Regions from separate parts of the Homo sapiens genome. Here regions 2 and 3 are each linked to region 1. Evidence: promoter capture Hi-C in human tissues and cell types (Jung and others, 2019). All regions are on one chromosome and are shown on one strand. Each heading gives the region's core, a stretch centred on a gene start or on the middle of the fragment in contact. The rest is flanking DNA. Distances are from core to core; before and after follow the strand shown.

Region 1 (4,021 bases), core at 988-3,487:
GGCTGATTTTATTTTATTTTTTGTAGAGATGGGGTTTGCCATGTTGCCCAGGCTGAATTAACGCCACTTCTTGATTGGTTGGAGCACAAGAATTACCCTAAAGTTTAGCCTTGGAGTGGGGGAGGGGGAAGAATTCAGAAACATCTGTCTTCAGAGGCTGGATGCTGTCACTGCAGGAGCCATTCATTTGCTTCCTCTAGATAGCCTCTGGTTGTGGTGACAACCCCTTATTGTCTAATTCTAATCCTCAACCACCAGGGCACTAGGCTGGGCAGACAGTGTCACTCCTGCTCTAAAGACAGCAGGGCTCAGAGAGGGGTAGTGCACATTCAAGGGCAAACAGCAACTGGAAACCAGACGTAATGATTTCCAGTCAATTCTCTCTATTTTACATCTGGCATATAACTGTTTTATAAAGCACAGCTCCGCTGGGTGCGGTGGCTCATGCTTGTAATCCCAGCACTTTGGGATGCCAAGGCAGGCAGATCACAAGGTCAGGAGTTCGAGACCAGCCTGACCAACACAGTGAAACCCTGTATTTACTAAAAATACAAAAATTAGCTGGACGTGGTGGCGGGTGCCTATAATCCCAGCTACTAGGGAGGCTGAGGCAGGAGAATTGCTTGAACCCGGGAGGCAGAGGTTGTAGTGACCCGAGATCCTGCCGCTGGATTCCAGCCTGGGCAAAAGAGCTAGACTCCGTCTCAAAAAATAAAATAAAATAAAATAAATAAAGCATAGCTCCTGGAGGAGGGCAAGAATGGAATTAGCACATTATCTTGGGGTTCAGGGAGATAACACGATTCTGTCAAAGTGACACAGTAAAGCAAAGGCCATTCCCTAGGTTTTCTTGAGTCGGAATAAACTCCTGGACTTAGTGACCGTTCCCCCACTTTCCCCATCCCTAGCAGGGCTACAGAGCTCACAAGCCACTCAAATAGGTGTTACTCCTGGGTCAAACCTTTTCATTGTGGGCCAGGACTGCTTTTGTGGCACTGAGAGAGGTCAGCTCCACTTCTGTGGACATCACAACTGAGATGCACCAAGCCAATTCTGTTCAACCACAATGTGGGCTGGCCCTACAGGAAAAGCTGTTCTAAAGTGACAGCTGGAGTCTTGGGCCCTTTGATAGGGAAGTCAAGGCTGTCTGTGGCAGTGGCTGATTTAGTTTCTCGCTGAGGCTTTTATCTTGCATCTTCTTGGGGATGACAGGTCCCAGGGCAGGCAGTGCTGTCACTTGCCATTGCTGTCATTCCTGGAGCAGGATGAAAGGTGGGCAGGGAAAAGGTCCTGACTCTTCTTATCATTCCTTCTAGAGGAAAATACGCTTATGAGGGGAAGCATGGTCAGGGAGAGGGGCTCAACCTCTGAACGCTCCAGAGAAAAGAGCAGGAATGGTGTGGGTTAGAGTCCCGGCTCCAAGGTGCATTAGCTGAGCTTGTCATCAGCTGGGAGTGTGCAGTGGCATCTCTCTAGGAGAGCTAAGCCTCGAGTTTTGGGTTGAGACACAGCCAGGTTCAAATTCCATCAAATCCCATTCTCACCACGTGCAGACTGTGTGGCCTTGGGCAAGTTCCATGCCCTCCCTGAGCCTCAGATTCCTCATCTTGTCAGACGGGCTCATAACAGCACTTAACACCAAGAACTGAAGAGTGTGAAAATGCACGTGAAGCACTTGGCACATAGTAAATGCTCATTAAGGTGAGATGCCACTGTCTTTTTCCCATGGCCAATTCCCCATGACTCAGTTTCCACTTCTGTAAGGCAAGAGCCTCAAAAGAACCGCTTCGAGGGCTGCTGCTAGGACAGATCGAGAGGACGGGCGCGAAGACCCCAGCCCAAGACATAACACGCCCTAACGAGCGGGCTGAGGGTCGGAGCCTCAGTCTCCCTATCTGCAAAATGGGCACCTGGTCTCCCCCACCACGGCCCAGGAACCCCCGAACGGCGGTGCAGGCGACTGCTCTTCTCCCTTTAGGCCCCCTCGACCCTCTCAGCGCCCTCGGCCCGTCCAGCCCTGTAGATCCCTCAGCCCCAGCCCCTCAGGGGCGCGCCCAGCCCGGGCCTCCGGCGCCCCCAGCCATTCCCCGGTCCCGTTACCTATGGTGGAGATAAAAGTGGAGTTGAAGGCGTCCTCGGAGAAGCGGAACAGGACACAGGTCTTCCCCACCCCCGAGTCCCCGATCAGCAGCAGCTTGAACAGGTAATCGTAGGTCTTCGCCATATTACACTCTCTCCCCGACGGGAAGTGCGGCCAGCGCCTCTCCACTGGCCACCAGCACCGTCCATCAGCACCGAGCCCGCCCCTTATTGGCTCCAGGCCCGCTGCGCGTCACCGCGGCCGACGCCCGCCCCTGCGTCCCGCCAGTCGCGGGGAGACCTTGGGAGGGGGCGAGCGGAGCGCGGAGCCGGAAGCAGCCCGAGCGCACCTCCCATTGGCCGGCACTAGGGAGAGCACGGGCTCTGATTGACCAGCAGTGAAGAGTCGCGGGGCTTCAAATGGGGACGAGGCGGGGGCGTGGCATTATGTGGCCCCCGCCTTCCACCCCCGACTCGGGCGGCCCGGCCCCGCCCCACTGTAGGAGAGGGAAGGCAGGGAGCGGCGCCAACCGCTCGCGCGCCGGCAGCCTGGCGGGGCGTGGCTTGGGGTGCGTGCGCACGCGCGCCCGGAGTTCCGTTAGGCGACAGCAGAGGGCGCACGCCAGTAGTTGGGGCGGGTGTCTCTGGGTCCCGCCCTCACAGCTCGCGCAGGCGCAGTAGGCACCGAGGCGAGCGCGGGAAAGCAAGGTAGCGCTCTCAGCCTTGTCTGCGGCCTGCGAGTCGGGGCAGTGGGGGCCTAGGGAGGAAGGAGAGAGGAGGAGCTGTATACTCGAAAAGTGACCCAAGCCGGACGCGGTGGTTCACGCCTTTAATTCCCACACTTTGGGAAGCCGAGGCGCGTGGATCACGAGGTCAGGAGTTCAAGACCAGCCTGGCCAAGATGGTGAAACCCCGTTTCTACTAAAAATACAAAAATTAGCCGGGCGTGGTGGCGGGCGCCTGTAATCCCAGCCACTCGGGAGGCTGAGGCAGAGAATTGCTTGAATCTGGGAGGCGGAGCTTGCAGTGAGCCGAGATCGCGCCATTGCACTGCAGCGTGGGCGACAGAGAGAGACTCCGTCTCAAAAAAAATAAATAAAAGTGACCCAAGACGAGCTCCGAGGTCTGCGGCCTAGCGATCTGCTTAGAGATACCCAAGGCCTCCGCCATCTGAGCGGCTTCACCGCCACAAGCTGTGCCCGGAAGCGCGCGCCGGCCTCCTCAGGGCCCGCCCTCGGCCACCTTAGGGGTTGTCCGGGCCAGCCCGGGGATGGTGGGGGGGGAGGGGTTAGAGCAGTGAGGATGCTGGGTCCTATCTAGGGGCCAGGGCTCTCAACGTTGAAAAAACTGGCCGGGGCGTTGGCTCCCGTCTGTGATCCCAGTGCTTTGGGAAGCCAGGAGGTTGAGGGTGCAGTAAGCCGTGATCGCCCCACTGCAATTCGGCCTGGGCGACAGAGCAAGACCCTATCAAAAGAAAAAAAGGCTGGGCGCGGTGGCTCAGGCCTGTAATCCCGCACTTTGGGAGGCCGAGGCGGGCGGATCAGGAGGTCAGGAGATCGAGACCATCCTGGCTAACGCGGTGAAACCCCGTCTCTACTAAAAACACAAAAAATTACCCGGGAGTAGTGGCGGGCGCCTGTAGTCCCAGCTACTCGGGAGGCTGAGGCAGGAGAATGGTGTGAACCCGGGAGGCGGAGCCTGCAGTGAACCGAGATCGCGCCACTGCACTCCAGTCTGGGCGACAGAATGAGACTACGTCTCAAAAAAAAAAAAAAAAAAAAAAAGAAAGAGAAAAACAGAGGAGAGATACATTTGGAAAATCGGGCTTGCAGCTGGGTGTGGTGGCTCAGGCCTGTAATCCCAGCACTTTGGGAGTCAGCACTTTGGGAGGCAGGAGGATTGCTTGAGCTTAGGAGGTCAAGACCAGCCCGGACAAGATAGG
Region 2 (4,545 bases), core at 1,408-3,907, 1.0 Mb after region 1:
GGACAGGTGTTTTTATTTTGCCCTCAGCAATAATGATATCTGTAATGGGTTAAACCTTCTTAGGAGCCAGTTTCTTTCTTTTTTTTTCCCCCAGCTATTGGCTGCTCAGCATGATTTTTATTTTATTTAATTTTATCATTTTATTTTAAGTTCCAGGATACACGTGCAGGACGTGCAGGTTTGTTACATAGGTAAACGTGTGCCATAGTGGTTTGCTGCACCTATCAAGCCATCACCTCGGTATTAAGCCCAGCATGCATTAGCTATTTATCCTGATGAGGAGCCGGTTTCTTTCTTTCTTTTCTTTTTTGAGATGGAGTCTTACTCTGTCACCCAAGCTGGAGTGCAGTGGCGCGATCTTGGCTCACTGCAACCCCCGCCTCCTGGGTTCAAAAGATTCTCCTGCCTCAGCCTCCTGAGTAGCTGGGATGACAGGCGAGCACCACCACGCATGGCTAATTTTTGTATTTTTAGTAGAGATGGGGTTTCACCATGTTTGTCAGACTGGTCTTGAACTCCTGACCTCATCATCTGCCCGGCTTGATCTCTCAAAGTGCTGGGATTACAGGCGTGAGCCACTGCAGCCAGCCAGGAGCCAGTTTCTTAATGCATAGGTCTTACAATAACTCCCACAGGGAGATTGTGTTAGCTACAATTTACAGTGAGCAGACTGGGGCTGAGCGAGCTGCCAGGGGCACTCAGCTTGCAAGTGCCTGATCTCGCCTTTGAATTTAGACTTATTTTCACTCTCATACTCCACTGCCTCCCTAAGAATGGCCACTCTCACCTCTTTATGAGGCATTTCGAAGCTAAATTCTGTGCTGTCAACACGTGCAAGGGAAAAATATTCAATTACAAGCATTTACACGTGTTTCTTTTCGAGACAGAGTCTCACTCTGTCACCTAGGCTAGAGTACAGTGGCACGATCTCGGCTCACTGCAACATCCGTCTCCTGGGTTCAAGTGATTCTTGTGCCTCAGCCACCCGAATAGCTGGGATTACAGGTGTGCATCACCACGCCCGATTAATTTTTGTATTTTTAGTAGAGACGGGGTTTCGCCTCTACTAAGCCTGTTGGCCAGGCTGGTCTTGAACTCCTGACCCGGTGATCCGCCCACCTTGGCCTCCCAAAGTACTGAGATTACAGGCGTGAGCCCAGTAATCTCATCATTTCAGCGCCCAGCCGATGAAAGGGGTTTTTAGGAAGGTTAGCAGCATAATCTCCTTGGTAACCCCAAGAGGCCTTCAGCAAAGCCCTATGTTAACTTTTTGAGGCTTTTTAGTGTTGGACTTGAGGTTTTTGCAATGCAATGCTTGGTTTTCTCTAGGCTGGATAGAATACTGCGATTCCCTTCCTGGCAACATATTTGTAACAGTCCTCAGTTGTTGACTTGGGTTGCATAGAGCAGCGGTTCTCAACCTTGAGCACGCTTCAGGGTCACCTGGAAGGCTTGTTAAAACACAAAAAGCGGGCCAGGCATGGTGGCTCACACCTGTAATCCCAGCACTTTGGGAGGCTGAAGTGGGAGAATTGCTTGAGGCCAGGAGTTCAAGACCAGCCTGGCAGACAAAGTGAGGCCACCCCACCCCCAATCCCGCCCTGGATCTACAAAAAATAAAACAATCTGCTGGGCATGGTGGCATGCTTCCATAGTCCCAGCTACTCAGAAGGCTGAGGTGGGAGAATCCCTTGAGTCCAGGAGTTAGAGACCAACCTGGGCAACACAGTGAGACCCCCATCTCTACAAAATAAAAAATTAGCTGGACATGGTGGCACACACCTGTTAGTCCCAGCTGCTTGGGGGGCCAAGGTAGGAGGATCTCTTGAGCCCGGGAGTGTGAGACCATCCTGGGCAACATAGGAAGATCCCTGCCTCTACGAAAATAAAATTAGCCAGGCATGGTGGTATATGTCTGTTATCCCAGGTACCCGGGAGGCTGAGGAGGGAGGATCACTTGAGCTTGGGAGGTCGAGGCTGCGATGAGCTATGATAATGCCACTGCACTCCAGACTGGGCAACAGAGCGAGACCCTGTCTCAAAAACAGAAAGAACAAACAAACAAACAAAACAATCCCCCCGCCCCCTCCCCCCCGCTCCCAAACTCATCATACACAAAAAGCTAAGCCCTTTCCCTGAAATGTCTGGTGTAAGAACCAGCACTTCTAGATAGTTTCCAGAGGATGCTGGTGCTTCTAGCCCAGGGACCACACTTGGGGAGCTGCTGCATTGGAGAAACTTGTTTCTCAAGACCTCTCCTATCTGTGCAGGTGTCCTGCAGCTGCAGACCCTCAGTGCTTTTCCTCCACATATCCTGCCACAGAGGGTCTGCCGTCTGCGTGCTTTGTCCACTCAGAGAGTCTAGACTTGGTCTCAGTCTCTTCTCTCTCTCTCGGCCTCTAGGAAGGAGACAGATTCCTCTCCCACAACCCTCCACCCCCACCCTCAGCTCAATCCTTTCCCCATCCCTCACCTGCTCACCAGGATGGCATCACCAAGGGGAGGGTCCCGGGAAGCCTCCTTCTCCACCAACTGCTAGAGGATCCCGAGGTCAGCACTAAACCCCTAGGAAGGGCATGGGGGCTACTCACCTGTGATCGCTGGGGTTAGCCTGATGTCTATGGGAAGGATTCATATGTGTACCCCCCCGCCCCCAGACTCTGCAGGTGAGTGGGGGAGCCAGGGGAACATCAGGGTATTTATAGTCTGGGGACTCTAGGAGACTTCGTCCCCATAGCTCCTTGTTAAGGAAGCGGATGCTAATTATTTTGTTTCTCCTCTGCCACATGTGACCTGTTCTTTTGGAGATGGGTGTGCTTTGGGATCATCGAGTGGGTAAGAAGAGGAAACAGTGACTAGGGATTCACTCTCACTAGGACATCTCCCTACGGTCTCCTTCCAGCTCAGGCTGAGCTTCATGGAAGCTCCCAGGCAGAGAGGTCTGGGGGGTCCCAGACTCCAGTCGGGCACTCAGATGCCTGAATCTGAGAGGTCCTTTCATTCATTGCATTATGGAAGAAACTGGCTCATTAAGGAAAGCTCCGAAGAGTATCAATCAATCAATAAATCGGTATTAAATAAATAAATTTATCAAACACTTTTTTTTGAGATGGAGTGTCACTCTTTCACCCAGCCTGGAGCACAGTGGAGCAATCTCGGCTCACTGCAACCTCCACCTCCTGGGTTCTAGCAATTCTCCCTCCTCAGCCTCTTGAGTAGCTGGAATTACTGGTGCCCACCACCATGCCCAGCTAGTCTTTGTATTTTTAGTAGAGACAGGGTTTCACCATGTTGGAAAGACTGATCTCAAACCTCAAGTGATCTGCTCTCCTCGGTCTCCCAAAGTGCTGGGATTACAGGCCTGAGCCACTGTACCCGGCCTATCAAACACTTCTTGATCACCTGCTTGGCACTGGAGTTGGACACGGTGGCTCATGCCTATAATCCTAGCTACTTGGGAGGCCAAGGTTGGAGAATCCCTTGAGCCTAGAAGTTTGAGACCAGCTTGGGCAAAACAGCAAGACCTTATATCTACAAAAAATTTAAAAAAATTAGCCAGGATTGGTGGCACATGCCCGTGGTCTCAGTTACCCAGGAGGCTGAGGTGGGAGGATCACTTGAGCCCTGGAGGTTGAGGCTGCAGTGAGCTGTGATCGCACCACTGCATTCCAACCTGGACAACGGAGTGAGACCCTGTCTCTTAAAAAAAAAATCCTTCCTATCAGCCACACAGAACGTGTGTAGGATACTTGTTGAAATTCTCCTAGGGGCTTTAGTAAATATTAGAATTACTTTCCCTAATAATATTGGCTGTTGGACTGTTGGCTCTTGGATCGTAACTCTGTGGGGAGGTCAGCTTCAAAGCAAGAACAAGGTAGACCAACTTCGCGTTGGACATATGGGGATATGAGTAGGTGCCAATCCCACTGTCATTATTTTTTTAAAATTAAAATTATTTTCAGAGGCTGGGCATGGTGGTTCACACCTGTAATCCTAGCACTTTGGGAGGCCGAGGCAGGTGGATCAATTTAGCTCAGGAGTTTGAGACCAGCCCGGCCAACATGGTGAAACCCTGTCTCTACTAAAAATACAAAATTAGCTGGACGTGCCTATAGTCCCAACTACTCAGGAGGCTGAGGTGGGAGGATCCCTTGAGCCCGGGAGGTGAAGTTTGCAGCAAGTTGAGATCATGCCACTGCACTCCAGCCTGGGTGACAGAGTGAGACCTTGTCTCAAAAAAAAAAAAAAAATCAATTTGAGCCCAAAGGTTGGGGAAAAACCCACCTAAAAAGTCCATAAGGTGGCCAGACATGGTGGCTCACACCTGTAATCCCAGCACTTTGGGAGGCTGAGGCGGGTGGATCACTTGAGGTCGGGAGTTCGAGACCAGCCTGGGAAAAATGGTGAAACCCAGTCTCTACTAAAAGTACAAAAATTAGCTGGGCATGGTGGGTGGGCATCTGTAATCCTAGCTACTTGGGAGGCTGAGGCAGGAGAATCACTTGAACCTGGGAGGCGAAGATTGCAGTGAGCCGAGATTGTGCC
Region 3 (4,162 bases), core at 803-3,302, 1.5 Mb after region 1:
AGGCCAAGGCGGGCGGATCACAAGGTCAGGAGATCAAGACTATCCTGGCTAACACGGTGAAACCCCGTCTCTACTAAAAATACAAAAAAAGTAGCCGGGCGTGGTGGCGGGCGCTTGTAGTCCCAGCTACTCGGCAGGCTGAGGCAGGAGAATGGCGTGAACCCGGGAGGCGGAGCTTGCAGTGAGCCGAGATTGCGCCACTGCACTCCAGCCTGGGCAACGGAGCAAGACTCCGTCTCAAAAAAAAAAAAAAAAAAATTAGCTGGCCGTGATGGCACCCACCTGTAATCCCAGCTACTTAGGAGGCTAAGGCAGGAGAATCGCTTGAAACCAGAAGGCGGAGGTTGCGGTGAGCCGAGATCACACCACTGCACTCCAGCCTGGGCAACAAGAGTGAAACTCTGTCTCAAAAAAAAAAAAAAAAAAGAAAGAAAAAGAAAAGTCTCTATTGCCAGTTGTCTATTCTCAATAGCTTGCTTTTTTCACTTAATATATCAGCAGCCACTTCCCCATGTCAACACATAAAGATCTAGTTGAGTAATTCTCCCAAAGCTGGTCACTAGACCAGCAACATCACATCACCTGGGAATTTTTATAGACAGGGTCTCACTCTGTTGCCTAGGCTGGAGTGCAGTGATGGGATCACGGCTCACTGCAGCCTGGAACTCCTGGGCTCAAGTTATCCTCCTGCCTCAGCCTCCCGAGTAGCTGGGACTACAAGCGTGCACCACCACACCCAGCTTTTTTTTTTTTTTTTTTTTTTGTAGAGATAGAGTCTCCCTATATTGCCCAGGCTGGTCTCAAACTCCTGAGTTCAGGCGATCCTCCCATCTCAGCTTCCCAAAGCTCTGAGATTACAGGTGTGAGCCACTGCCCTGGCCCATATTTTTTTTTTTCCATTAGACTGTTTTTCTGTTCCATTAGACTGTAAGCTTGAAAGACAGGAACCACGTCTGCCTTTCTGTCTGACCACTGGACCCAGCATACCATACAGTAGATGCCTAATACATGCTTTGTCAGACTGGGGAAAAATATATATTAGATATTAATATTAGATATTAATATATTTTAAAATTGTATAAAGATTGCATATATATATATAATTTATTTGAAATTTCAGCTTTAAATAATTGTTTTTGACCAGGCACAGTGGCTTACGCCCATAATCCCAACACTTTGAGAGGCTGAGGCGGGAGGATCCCTGGAGCCCAAGAGTTCAAGGTTGCAGTGAGCTATGATTGTGCCACTGTGCTCCAGCCTGGGCGACAGAATGAGACCCTATCTCAAAAAATAATAATATAATAATAACTGTATTTATGAATAACTTTTATTTAAATTAAATTTATCAAAATCTTTCTTGGACAGGCACTGTGGCTCATGCCCGTAATCCCAGCAATTTGGGAGGCTGAGGCGGGGGAATCACTTGAGGTCAGGGGTTCGAGACCAGCCTGGCCAACTGGCGAAACCCCGTCTCTACTAAAAATACAAAAATTAGCTGGGGGTGGTGGCGGGCGCCTGTAATCCCAGCTACTCAGGAGGCTGAGGCAAGAGAATTTGAGCCCAGGAGGTGGAGGCTGCAGTGAGCCGAGATCGCGCCAATACACTCCAGTCTGGGCGACAGGTACTGTGTCTCCAAAAACAAAAAATTCTTAAAGTGACTTTATGCAAAATTACATACATTAACGATATAATAGATATCGTGCCTTTTTTAAGAGAAATTTGAATGTTTTCAAAGAAAAAACTTTTTGGAAAATGATATGAAAAATAATTTTAATATGTGCTTTAGCCTCGGGCTACCAGAAGAGCCCCAGATAGGGTCGAGGGAGGCCTCAGTCCCACACCGTCCCCTTCTGCCCCGCCCAGATGGATTTCCAGGCTCAGGGAAGTCCCCTCTCGGGTCCAACCATATCCTGCGAAGAGACACAGCACCTGTCCCGCCTCCGCCTGTCCGCGAGGTGACGCCAGGCGGACCGGAGCGATCCTCTGGAGTCCTTCATCTCTATGATCTCCGCAGCTGCCTAAATGACCCGGAAGCTGTGTCTGACTGAGGGGTCAGTGGTTCCGGGTAGGAGCTAGGTGACCCTCGGCTGCTGCAGGGATCTGCAGCGACTGCAGCCATGGGGGCCCACCTGGTCCGGCGCTACCTGGGCGATGCCTCGGTGGAGCCCGACCCCCTGCAGATGCCAACCTTCCCGCCAGACTACGGCTTCCCCGAACGCAAGGAGCGCGGTGAGGCCCAGTGCGCAGGCGCAGCCAGAGGGCGTGGGGCGCGGGTGCCTGAACACCTGGCACCCCAGGGCTGGCACCCCAGGGCTGGGCTCTAACCTCAGGTGTTGTATCTGGGTTTGGGTCTAGACTAGGAGTCCACAGGACGTGCATGACCCCACCTCAGTGTGGAGGCGTTCCAGCCCAAGGGCACGGCTTGAGCAAAAGCCAGGGAGCAAAAGTGAGGCGACAAGTGGGGGTTCGGGCAGGAATGCGACGCGCAGAGCTGGGTCGAGTCTTTTTTTTTTTTCTTTTGAGACGGAGTCTCGCTTTTTCTTTCAGGCTGGAGTGCAGTGGCTTGGTCTCGATTCACTGGCAGCCTCCACCTCCCGGGTTCAAGCGATTCTCCTGCCTCAGCCTCGCGAGTAGCTGTGATTACAGATGTGTACCACCATGCCCAGCTACTTTTTTGTATTGTTAGTAGAGACGGGGTTTCTCCTTGTTGGCCAGGCTGCTCTTGAACTCCTGACCTCAAGTGATCCGCCCGCCTCGGCCTCCCCAAGTGCTGGGATCGCAGAAGTCAGTCACCACGCCCGGCCTCGGGCCAAGTCTTGGGGGACGTGGGGAGTCATGGGAGGGCAGGGACACGTTCATTGTACCCCCTTCCTGATGTCACTGCAATTGTGGGGTATGCACAAGGAAATAAGGAAGATTCGAGCTGCAAATACTGTCCTGCAAAGTGCTTTGTTTTGCTTTGAGACGGGATCTTGCTCTGTTGCCCAGGCTGAGTGTAGTGGCACAATCACAGCTCATTGCATCCTCGACCTCCTGGGCTCAAATGATCCTCCCGCCTCAGCCTCCCGAGTAGCTGGGACTACAGGAGCGCCCCAGGATGCCAGACTGATTTTTTATTTTTTGTAGAGTTGGGGGTCTTGCTGTGTTGCCCAGGCTGGTCTCAAACTCCTGGGCTCAAACGATCCTTCTGCCCAGCCTCCCAAAGTGCTGGGATTGAAGATGTGAGCCACTACGCCCAGGATGGTTTTTTGGTTCGTGTGTTTGTTTTTGCTTTTAATGTAGTAATATCACAGGCATACCGAGCACCAGCTCTGGGCCACGTCCCACATTAGGCACCGCGGATACAGCAGGGAACTGGAGGGATGCAGGCACTGTCTCCAGAGAACTCAGCACAGTGGGAAAGATTGTGGAATCAGGCAGAGCTGGGGGTGTCAAAGCAGGCTTCCAAGAGGCAGTGGCTGGAAACAAAGACGTGAAGGGTGGCCGGTCGTGGTGGCTCATGCCTGTAATCCCAGCACTTTGGGAGGCTAAGGCGGGCAGATCACCTGGGGTCAGGAGTTTGAGACCAGCCTGGCCAACATGGTGAAACACCATCTCTACTAAAAATATAAAAATTGAGGCCGGGCATGGTGTCTCACACCCATAATCCCAGCACTTTGGGAGGCCGAGGCGGGCAGATCACGAGGTCAGGGGATTGAGACCATCCTGGCCAATGTGGTGAAACCCTGTCTCTACTAAAAATACAAAAATTAGCCAGGGGCGTGGTGGTGCACACCTGTAGTCCCAGCTACTCAGGAGGCTGAGGCAGGAGAATCGCTTGAACCCAGGAGGCAGAGGTTATAGTGAGCCGAGATCACACCACTGCACTCCAGCCTGGGCGACAGAGCAAGACTCCATCTCAAAAACAAAATACAAAAATTAAGCCGGGCACGGTGGCTTATGCCTGTAATCCCAGCACTTTGGGAGGCCAAGGCCGGTGGATCACCTGAGGTCAGGAGTTTGAGACCAGCCTGGCCAACATGGTGAAACCCCGTCTCTACTCTACTAAAAATACAAAAATTAGCCAGGTGTGGTGGCGCATGCCTGTAATCCCAGCTGTCTGGGAGGCTGAGGCAGGAGAATTGGCTGGAACCCAGGAGGCAGAGGTTGCAGTGAACCAAGG

Evidence for each region. Contacts are between HindIII fragments. The study calls those that stand out against the background at their distance.
Region 2: a contact is called between the fragment with the promoter of OR1I1 here and the fragment with the promoter of RAB8A in region 1, in 1 of the 25 tissues and cell types used here (heart left ventricle).
Region 3: the fragment with the promoter of NDUFB7 here is called in contact with the fragment with the promoter of RAB8A in region 1 in 2 of the 25 tissues and cell types used here (H1 embryonic stem cells and dorsolateral prefrontal cortex).

What each region holds. Positions count from the first base shown.
Region 1 is chr19:16,110,105-16,114,125 of GRCh38, reverse strand. RAB8A (RAB8A, member RAS oncogene family) reads right to left here and starts at 2,237. Exons shown (of 8, transcript NM_005370.5): 1 at 2,101-2,237. The coding sequence starts at 2,224. RefSeq lists a silencer at 2,195-2,854. The HindIII fragment of the contact is 16,619 bases long and covers 1-4,021 here.
Region 2 is chr19:15,080,323-15,084,867 of GRCh38, reverse strand. It overlaps OR1I1 (olfactory receptor family 1 subfamily I member 1), which reads right to left and starts at 2,657. Exons shown (of 2, transcript NM_001004713.2): 1 at 2,592-2,657. The HindIII fragment of the contact is 16,029 bases long and covers 1-4,545 here.
Region 3 is chr19:14,569,956-14,574,117 of GRCh38, reverse strand. It overlaps NDUFB7 (NADH:ubiquinone oxidoreductase subunit B7), which reads left to right and starts at 2,052. Exons shown (of 3, transcript NM_004146.6): 1 at 2,052-2,229. The coding sequence starts at 2,118. RefSeq lists an enhancer at 1,831-2,120. The HindIII fragment of the contact is 12,939 bases long and covers 1-4,162 here.